3 separate regions of the Homo sapiens genome follow, and regions 2 and 3 are each linked to region 1. The links are contacts of gene promoters, found by promoter capture Hi-C in human tissues and cell types (Jung and others, 2019). All regions are on one chromosome and are shown on one strand. Each heading gives the region's core, a stretch centred on a gene start or on the middle of the fragment in contact. The rest is flanking DNA. Distances are from core to core; before and after follow the strand shown. Region 1 holds the start of ABCA3 (ATP binding cassette subfamily A member 3). Region 2 overlaps TRAF7 (TNF receptor associated factor 7). Region 3 holds the start of CASKIN1 (CASK interacting protein 1).

Region 1 (3,204 bases), core at 572-3,071:
TGCATTTTCTCATTTGACCCAAAAAAGAAAAGAATACACCAACAAAAAACCTTTGAGTTTGCTATTATTATTAATTACTATTATTATAATTTCAATTTTAGGGATAGGAAATTGAGACTCAGAAAGATAAAATGACATGTCTACATTAATTGGTGGGTCAAGATCTGAAGCCAGGTCTCTGTGATTCCACTGAACAAATTATTTAGCATGAGCCTCCTCCGCCCCAGGCACTCTAGGACCCTGGATCTAGGCATGAACCTGACGAAGTCCCTTTGCTCGCGGAATGGGCTATCCAGAACATCATCAGAGTGAAAGGTGCTATGTACACAGTAAAATGGGGAACGAGCCGCTCAAACCCTACTCCATCAGGACTCTTGGGGGTGGGCGATTTCCGCCCCCGGCCCGGGGCGTTGCATTAGGTCGGGGCCGTCGGGTCGTGGTGCCGGCGGCTGGCTGGGCGCGGGGCTGGCGGTGCGGGTCGCAGGCGGCTCCCAGCGGCAGGACCGGCAGCAGCCCTCCCTCACCCGGGGCGCCGGGACCACGGACGCACCTCACTGTGGTCCGGCCGCTGGCGGCGCTCGGGGACCCATTGGCCCCGGCCCGCGGCAACTGTCGGCCCCGCGCGGCGCCCGCCCTCATGCTGGAGCCCGGGAGTCCCTCACTCCACCTCTCCCTGCCACGCCAAGGGGGCCCGCCCCTCCCAGGCTCTCCTGCCTGGGGCGACCCAGTCCCACGACCCGGTCCGGCCCAGGGACACCCCGACCCACCTCCCCACTCCCGTCCCGTTAGACCGCGACCCGTCCCTGGGACCGCCTAATGTGACACGCCCGGGACCCTCCCTGCAGGCGACTCCCTGCAGGGCCCCCGCCCTGGACACTCCCTCCAGGTGACCCCGTTCCGCTCGCTCCGTGAGGTGACCCCGACCCTCTCCGGACCACCTCCTCAGGTGACCCCGACCCTCTCCGGACCCTCCCCGACCCTCCCCTCAGGTGAACCCGACCCTCCCCGGACCATCCCGTCGGGTGACCCCAACCATCCCCGAACCCCCCCACCCTCCCCTCAGGTGACCCCGACCCTCTCTGGACCCTCCTCACAGGCGGCCCCGCCCCACCCCGGGACCCTCCCGCCAGGTGACCCCGACAAGGCCGGGCCCTCCTGCCTGAGGTGACTCCTACCCGGCTGGGGACCCCCGAGGCCTCCCTCGCTCCTTAAGTGAGGGCGACTCCGCTCATCCCGGGACACCGCGCCTTCTCCTGTAAACTCGACGCCTGCCCCGACGGCCGAATTCCAGAAGGTTCCTCGCCGCCGCCTCGCCTTCGGTCGCGCCCCAGCGCCCGGCCAGAGGCGGGGAAGCCCTTCCCCCGGTGCCAGGAGTGACGAGGGCCCAAGGAAAGACAGTGCGTGAGGAGAAATGGAGAAACGGCCAAAGTCGAGTTTCCGGGTGTGAAGACTTCCACTGCTGCGAAACGCACGTGCGCAGAGTCATTCCTGTCAGAGGCCACCGCGCCCTCGCTCGGCTACCGCCGCTGCGCGCCCCCTGCTGGACATAGGCGCGGGCACAGAGCAGTGCGCAAGCACGGGCTGCCGCGCGGCCGGGTGCGAACCGCGTACTCGCAGGGTGGCTGACTGCGCACGCGCAAGTCAGAGCGCCCTCTGCCGGGCATGGGCGACATGCAGGGGGCACCGCGCAGGCGCGGGGTTGGGCTGGCCGGAGCGGCCGAGGCGGCCGGGGGTGGACCGGGCACCTGCAGGGGCGGCCGACTGCGCACGCGCCATCCGCGGCGCCCCCTGCAGGAGCCGGAGCGGCCGCTGCGTCCGCCAGTAGCGGGTTGCAGGCGCACCCTCCCCTCCAGGGCGGCCACGCAGCTGTCAGTGCCGCCGCCACTGCGAGGCTGGAGCGGAGCCCGGGTGGCCGAGGGAGGGGACCCCGCGAGAGGGCCGCGCGCCGGCCGCCGCCGCCCCGGCGCCCAGGCTCGGTGAGTGCCGCCGGGACCCGCCGCTCGCGCGCTCGTTCCCGGGGCTTGCGGTCCCCACCCGGGTCCGCCCTTCCCACCCTCGCCGGCCAGCTCGGGCCTCGGGCCCCCCCCAGCTCCGGCCTGGCCTGCGGGCCCCTCCCGCGACCCCGCATCCCCTCCGGCCGCGCCCGCGCCCGCCCCTCCTGCCGCGGCCTCGGCTCCGGGCGCTCCCTGCAGGTGCCGCTCCCTCAGCGTCGGCTCCCATCCGAGCCTTGGGCGTGTCCCGCACTGCGGGCAGTGCCTGAGCCCGCGCCGCGCGGGGAAGCTCGACCCTGCGGAGACTCGGCACGGCCCGGGCCCTCTGTGTGCGCCCAGAAGGTGGATATGTAGCGACCGACAGCCCCGGCCCCGAGGGATGCAGGCGTCCGCCGCGCACTTGCGGAGATGGCGCCGCTTTCCGGCCGCAGGGATGCCGGGCGCGCGGTGGCAAAGCCGCCCGGGTTGGATTCCGCCTGCTCCCACCCTCTGGTTCCGAGGAGCCTCCAAATCCGAATCCAAGGCCCACGGTCCGCGGCGGGCGTTTGCTGCGCCCTCCACTGTGTGGGAACGGGAAAGGGGAGCCGCTAGTCCAGGCGGAGGGGCTTGTGGCAGTCGCCGGAGGCCGCGTTCTCGGCGCCCTCGGTCAGGACGCCTGTGTGCATCGCGTCCGTGTGTCTTGGCTCTGTTCCAAGCCGGCTCCACGCTTCAGAAGGGCCGGGACGGCCTTATGGTCAGGGGCGTGGGGAAGGCGCTTGGTGTCTGTCGCACAGATGAAGCCATGTCCTCAGGGGGTAATTGCCGCTTGTTCTCCGGGTTACGTCCTGGACTGTGCACTCCGGGAAGGCGTCGATTGGATCTTGTTGGGGTTTGTGTTCCTGGAACTCCAGAAATGCCCGCTGAGTGAGTAGCCGAGACCCCGCGACAGCATGGAGCCCAGGCAGGGAGCACGTGGGAGAGGTTCACTCTTCTCCTGGGCATCCCGTCATTTTATTCAGATAGTCTGGGCGCTGCCTTTTGTAAACTTGAAAAGACTAAGACTGTTTTAGAAAGTTTGCCTCATGAGAAATGTAAGAGAAAGGGAAAAATAGATAAAAATGGATGTCATGGGAATCTCCCCCACACTTTCATTTTTAACTTCTTAGATAATTTTTCTTTTAAATTGAACCTTTGCTAACTCTACCTGAAAAACAGGACGACGTCTCTCCCTTCC
Region 2 (3,204 bases), core at 282-2,781, 180 kb after region 1:
TGGCTTGCTGGCTCATGCCTGTAATTCCAGCACTTTGGGAGGCCAAGGCAGGAGGATCACGTGAGCCCAGGAATTTGAGACCATCCTGGGCAACATGGTGAGACCTCATCTCTACCAAACATAAAAAAAATTAGCCAGGTGTGGTGGTGCCTGTGGTCCCAGCTACCTGGGAGGCTGAGGTGGCAGGACTGATCCCAGGAGGCACAGGTTGCAGTGAGCCAAGATTGCGCCACTGCATTCCAGCTTGGGTGACAGAGTGACACCCGTCTCAAAAAAACAAACCAGACTTATGGATCTCTTCCACTCTCCCTCCCTTCCTATTAACATGTCACAACTGCAGCACTGTTACTGAAGCCCTAGGGCCAAACTCAAGAGAAGACCTCCGGGCACACGGGACCTTTCGGAGGCTGGCCAGGAGCCTGAGACTGGGGACAAGCTGGGGATCACTGTGACAAGGGACAGGGCTGTGTGGTGGTGCTGGAGATGTCAGGGCAAGCCTCCCTAGAGGGGATGAAGAGGGCAGGGAGAGAGGGCACAGCACAGTCACCGAGGCACAAGGAGCAGGACACCCGACTCCTGTCCAGTGGGGAGGCCCAGGGCTGAGAGGCTGTGAGGACACAGGCTGCGGTGTGAGGCTGCCCGCGCCCAGCACTGGCACCCAACACCAGCTCACCGGGAAGTGTCCCTCAGTCCTTAGCAGGGTGGGCATGGGGGTGCCCCGGTTATTCCCAGCCTGGGCTGGCCTTGGCTTAAGGGCTCACCTTTTGTGATGGTGGTGACGGCTGAAAAGGCGGGTCCGAAGGTCGTTTCCATTCTGGTCTAGAGGGAGGACGGAGGAGACCTGGCCTCATTCCGGGACACAAGGAGGACGTGCACATGTGGAGCCCACTCACATGCCTAACACGCGACCAGGCCAGGCCACGCAGCACTCACACACTTAACCATGCGACCAGGCCACGCCACGCAGCACTCACACGCTTAATCATGCGACCAGGCCGCGCCACGCAGCGCTAACACGCTTAACCATGCGACCAGGCCAGGCCACGCAGCACTCACACGCTTAACCATGCGACCAGGCTGCGCCACACAGCACTCACACGCTTAACCATGCGACCAGGCCAGGCCACGCAGCACTAACACGCTAAACCATGCGACCAGGCCAGGCCACGCAGCACTCACACGTTTAACCATGCGACCAGGCTGCGCCACACAGCACTCACACGCTTAACCATGCGACCAGGCCAGGCCACGCAGCACTAACACGCTTAACCATGCGACCAGGCCAGGCCACGCAGCACTCACACGCTTAACCATGCGACCAGGCCGCGCCACGCAGCACTCACACGCTTAACCATGCGACCAGGCCGCGCCACACAGCACTCACACACTTAACCATGCGACCAGGCCGCGCCACGCAGCACTAACACGCTTAACCATGCGACCAGGCCGCGCCACGTAGCACTAACACGCTTAACCATGCGACCAGGCCAGGCCATGCAGCACTCACACGCTTAACCATGCGACCAGGCCAGGCCACGCAGCACTCACACGCTTCAGCATGCGACCAGGCCAGGCCACGCAGCACTCACACGCTTAACCATGCGACCAGGCCAGGCCATGCAGCACTCACACGCTTCAGCATGCGACCAGGCCAGGCCATGCAGCACTCACACGCTTAACCATGCGACCAGGCCAGGCCACGCAGCACTCACACGCTTAACCATGCGACCAGGCTGCGCCACACAGCACTCACACGCTTAACCATGCGACCAGGCCAGGCCACGCAGCACTAACACGCTTAACCATGCGACCAGGCCAGGCCACGCAGCACTCACACGCTTAACCATGCGACCAGGCTGCGCCACACAGCACTCACACGCTTAACCATGCGACCAGGCCAGGCCACGCAGCACTAACACGCTTAACCATGCGACCAGGCCAGGCCACGCAGCACTCACACGCTTAACCATGCGACCAGGCCGCGCCACGCAGCACTCACACGCTTAACCATGCAACCAGGCCGCGCCACACAGCACTCACACGCTTAACCATGCGACCAGGCCGCGCCACGCAGCACTAACACGCTTAACCATGCGACCAGGCCGCGCCACGTAGCACTAACATGCTTAACCATGCGACCAGGCCAGGCCACGCAGCACTCACACGCTTAACCATGCGACCAGGCCAGGCCACGTAGCACTCACACGCTTAACCATGCGACCAGGCCAGGCCACGCAGCACTAACACGCTTAACCATGCGACCAGGCCAGGCCACGCAGCACTCACACGCTTAACCATGCGACCAGGCCGCACCACGCAGCACTAACACGCTTAACCATGCAACCAGGCCGCGCCACGCAGCACTAACACGCTTTACCATGCGACCAGGCCAGGTCACGCAGCACTCACACGCTTAACCATGCGACCAGGCCGCGCCACGCAGCACTCACACGCTTAACCATGCAACCAGGCCGCGCCACACAGCACTAACACGCCCCAACCACACACGCACGCGTGCGCGCGCGCGCGCGCGCGCGCACACACACACACACACACACCACACCCCCCCCCACCGAGCTCCCCTGAGACCCCAGCTCGGGACGGGACTGCGCTGGGAGCTCTGCAGGCAACACCAGATCCCTGGGGCATGCTGGGGGTCCTGGGGATGTTGGGCTTGCAGAGGGGCACACCCTTACCCCTGTGGTGACGTCTGGGGTGGGAAGATTGCTGGGCCCCCCGGAGAAGCGGTTGTAGCGGGCACTCTTGCCTGAGCTCATGCTCTAGAGAGGCATCTACGGTCCTTGGGAAGCACCTCCTGTGGGTGGAGCACAAATGAGGGGCTTGAGAGATGGAGCCCAGGCCCCTGTGAGTCAGACGGGCTGCTGCAAGTGTGCAGACCTGCTGTGGGGCACCGTGGGGCCGCCGCAGCAGCCTTCCACCACCAGCCCCGGCTCAGGCAGGCCTCTAGGAGGCAAAGGTCCTTCACCCCGATCCCAGGTATGCAGAGGCCCGGGCAGGCAGGCGGCTCTGCGTCACCGTCCCTCAAGGCTTAGCCTTTCTGAGCTCCCGAAGAGCCCATCCAGCTCTTCCCCGAGGTGGAGGGACCCCTGCCTGGCTCCCTCTACTCCTCTGGGTCCTGAGTCACAGCCAGTCACCTCCAGGCTGAATGTCCCTGGGGCCAAGGCTGGGCCTTGGTGGGTAGGC
Region 3 (3,204 bases), core at 488-2,987, 140 kb after region 1:
TCCCAGCACTTTGGGAGGTTGAGGTGGGAGGACTGCTTGAGGCCAGGAGTTCGAGACCAGTCTAGGTAACATACTGAGACCTCATCTCTATTAAAAATCAAAAAAAATTAGCCGGGCGCTACTCAGGAGGCTGAGGCGGGAGGACTGCTTGAGCCTGGGATGTTGAGGCTGCAGTGAGCTATGATGGCGTCACTGCACCCCAGCCTGGACGACAGAGCGAGACCCTGTCTCAGAAAAAAGAATGACAAAGTGACCAGCTCATGGTCACAAACCACTAAGAGGGGGAATAGGACACATCCAGAGGTGCGGGTGCAAAGCCCAGACTTACAACCTCAAGACTCTGGGACCCCAGGTGAGCCCCTTGGCTTCTCTGAGCCTCAGTTTCTTCATCTGTAAAATGGGGACAGTGAGTCCAACCTCATCTAGGAGGTGACCAGCACAGTGCCTGACCCAGCGGGTACTCAACTGGTCATTGGAAAGGGCAAGAGGAAAGGCCCTAGCATTTGGGGACCCCTCCCAGGAGTGCTGGAAGACCAAGGGCTGCTACCTGAACCTAACAGGAGACCCCACGGAGGGAACGGGAACGGCCAGCTGCCCACAGGATGCCGGGACCCCGGTGCCTGTCACCTTCCCTGTCCCTGCTGTCTGACCTCCTCTGTCCCCCTGGACCTGCTCAATGGTCTGGGGCCACACAGAGTGGGGTGCCAGGCCATGCCTCATAGAATGGGTGCGACCCTCCCCAAATTCTCCAAACGGCCTTGCCCGCTTGGGTGATGAGGGAAACGGAGCCTGAGTCGGGACTCAGACCCCCACTGATCTGCCTCTAGAATGCTGCAGGCCTGACGGGAGAGGGCCTGAGGCGCAGGGTGGCCCAAGCCTTCAGCCAGGAGCTCAGAGGGTCACAAGTCGGGGCCTCCAGCACCCAGGAAGCAGGACTCGCCTGCCTGGGCTGCAGGCTGGAGAGTGGGCAGACGTGGGCCGGGGGTCGGTTGGTGCCGGCGGGAGGTTCCAGCCCCTGTGGATGGAGATGGAGGCGACCCCCAGTCGGTGCGGGGAGTGGGGAGTTGAGCTCCCTCAGTGGGGGTGGTGGGGGCTACCTTGGGGTCAGGCTTCGGACTGAGGCTGGGGGAAGCTGTGGCGCCCGCATTATTTGCGGAGAGGAGCAGGAGGATGCTTGGGGGTTGGGGGTGCGGGTTCCCTGACACCGAATTCATTATTGGGAGATTCCTCTTCACAATCCCTCGACACCTCCCACGGGAACCCTGGGCCAGGAACGCCTGACAGCCTGGCGGGCCGGCTCCAGGGGCACTGGCGCCCGGGTCTCTCGGCGCCCGGTCCCCGCCCGCCCGCTGCCTCGGAACCGTCCCCCGCGGGTCCCGCAGCCTCTGGAAGCCTCTCTGGGCTCAGCCCCGCGCCGCCGCCGCGTCGGGGCTCCCAGTGCACCCCCGGCGGCCGCGTCCCCAGCCCGGCTAGCAGCCCCAGGCCGCCCGCGTCCGCAGAGGCCTGGCCTGAGCGCGCTGCGCGCACGTGGGGAGGGGGCGTCCCGGGGCGGGCGCGGGGAGGGCGGAGCCACGGGCCCGGGCGCGCGGCCGGCGCGGGCTGACGGAGGTCGGCGGCCCGGGAGCGGACCCCGGCGTCCGGGAGGCGGCGCCAGGTGCCGCGCCCCCGCCCCGCGCCCGCCGCGCGCCCCCGCCCCCGGGCCGCCCCCCGCCCGTGACGCGCTCCCCGCCCCCTCCGCGCCGGGAGCCCGAGCCCAAGCCGGAGCCCGAGGAGGGCGAAGGGGCGGCGGGCGGCGAGGAGGCGGCGGGGGAGGCGGCGGGGGAGGCGGCCGGTGCCGCGGGGCCGCCGCCGCCTCTGAGCCGCGCCGAGCTCACGAGCGCAGCCGCGTCGCTGCGGCCCCGGCCGCGCCATGGGGAAGGAGCAGGAGCTGGTGCAGGCGGTGAAGGCGGAGGACGTAGGGACCGCGCAGAGGCTGCTGCAGAGGCCGCGGCCCGGGAAGGCCAGTGAGTGCCGGGGGCGCGGGGCGCGGGTGGGAGCCCCGGGGGCCCCTCCCCGGCGCGGAGCCCCCCACCCGGCGCCGGGCGGGGAGGGGACGTTGTCGGGTCCCCGGGGGCGGGGCGGGGCCAGCAGCGCCCAGACCCTTGGTCCGTGCCCTCCACCCGCTGCCCCCAGCACTGGAGATGGGGCGGCCCCGAGAGCCGGCCGCCACCGTGAGCCCCGCAGCGGGCACCTGGCGGCACCCGCCTCCCGGGCCGCGGGCGTTCGCATCCCTCTCTCTCTACCTCTGTCCCCCTCCCTTCCCAGGCTGCGGGCTGACAGCTGGAGGTCTCTGCTGGGGCCTTCAAAGGGCGAGGCGGATGCCCCCCCCACCCACCACACGCACCGGGAAGACAGGGAGGGGGCCCCTGCGGCGAGGGGCGACCCGGGAGGTGACAGTCCCTAGCAGACCCCCTCCCGCCCCACGTTTAATAACACGCTTTGCAGGGAAGGTGGGGGCAGGACCACGCTGGGGGTGTGGCTGCCCTGGCATGGCCGGTGGGGTGCCATTTACTGATGGGAGAGCAGAGGCCCAAGGTCGCCCAGCCCAGGGCAGGCTGGACTCCAGGCAGGGCCGGCCTGGGCGCAAGGGCTTGGGGCCCTGCTCAGGCAGGCTCCAGCAGAGCCGGGTCTCCAGCTTCCCTGCTGGGAAAGGAGGCCATGAGGGAGTGGGGGACCACCACTGGCCATCCCCAGCTTGCCCTATGGCCGGCCCCAGGAAAGGGCTGGGAGCTTGGAGCCCTGGTCCCAGCACTCATCCTGGCTCAGCGCGTAGCCTCCCTGGGGGCCGCCGGAGATGGATGGATGGGCGTGTGGACCAGCCGCGTGTGCGGCTGCGCACGTATAGCCGTGTCAGTGTGTCAGGGCACCTGTGCGGGCACGGACAGGGCTCTGCAGGTCGGCACGTGGGGTCTGGGCGTCCTCCCTCCTCCCTCCACCCCCACAGACTGTAAGCCAGAGAGTCCCCCTCCCCTTCCTCCAGGGGGATGCCGAGAACTGGGACTGGCTTCTGGGAGATTGTTGGGGGCACCTAGGAGTCCCAGGAGGACCCCCTCCCCCGTACTTCACCAGCAGCCCATGACTGGCTAGCTCCTGTCCACTCTGTGCAGTAAGAGAGAGGGGGCACCGGTGCCTTGCAGGCTGGCCCCGAGCTGATTTCAGGTCCGG

The links. Contacts are between HindIII fragments. The study calls those that stand out against the background at their distance.
Region 2: a contact is called between a fragment that was not itself captured here and the fragment with the promoter of ABCA3 in region 1, in 3 of the 25 tissues and cell types used here (bladder, dorsolateral prefrontal cortex and lymphoblastoid cells).
Region 3: a contact is called between the fragment with the promoter of CASKIN1 here and the fragment with the promoter of ABCA3 in region 1, in 4 of the 25 tissues and cell types used here (heart left ventricle, liver, lymphoblastoid cells and 1 more).

Annotation. Positions count from the first base shown.
Region 1 is chr16:2,339,345-2,342,548 of GRCh38, reverse strand. It overlaps ABCA3 (ATP binding cassette subfamily A member 3), which reads left to right and starts at 1,821. Exons shown (of 33, transcript NM_001089.3): 1 at 1,821-1,976. It also overlaps the pseudogene ABCA17P. RefSeq lists silencers at 1,511-1,970, 2,141-2,200. The HindIII fragment of the contact is 11,234 bases long and covers 1-3,204 here.
Region 2 is chr16:2,163,494-2,166,697 of GRCh38, reverse strand. It overlaps TRAF7 (TNF receptor associated factor 7), which reads right to left. Exons shown (of 21, transcript NM_032271.3): 2 at 2,697-2,815; 3 at 762-819. The coding sequence starts at 2,777. Among named protein-coding and RNA genes, the nearest start is that of TRAF7, 9.3 kb to the right of the region's middle. RefSeq lists enhancers at 771-1,543, 1,544-2,317, 2,727-3,204. The HindIII fragment of the contact is 6,093 bases long and covers 1-3,204 here.
Region 3 is chr16:2,195,138-2,198,341 of GRCh38, reverse strand. It overlaps CASKIN1 (CASK interacting protein 1), which reads left to right and starts at 1,737. Exons shown (of 20, transcript NM_020764.4): 1 at 1,737-2,003. The coding sequence starts at 1,910. The HindIII fragment of the contact is 36,898 bases long and covers 1-3,204 here.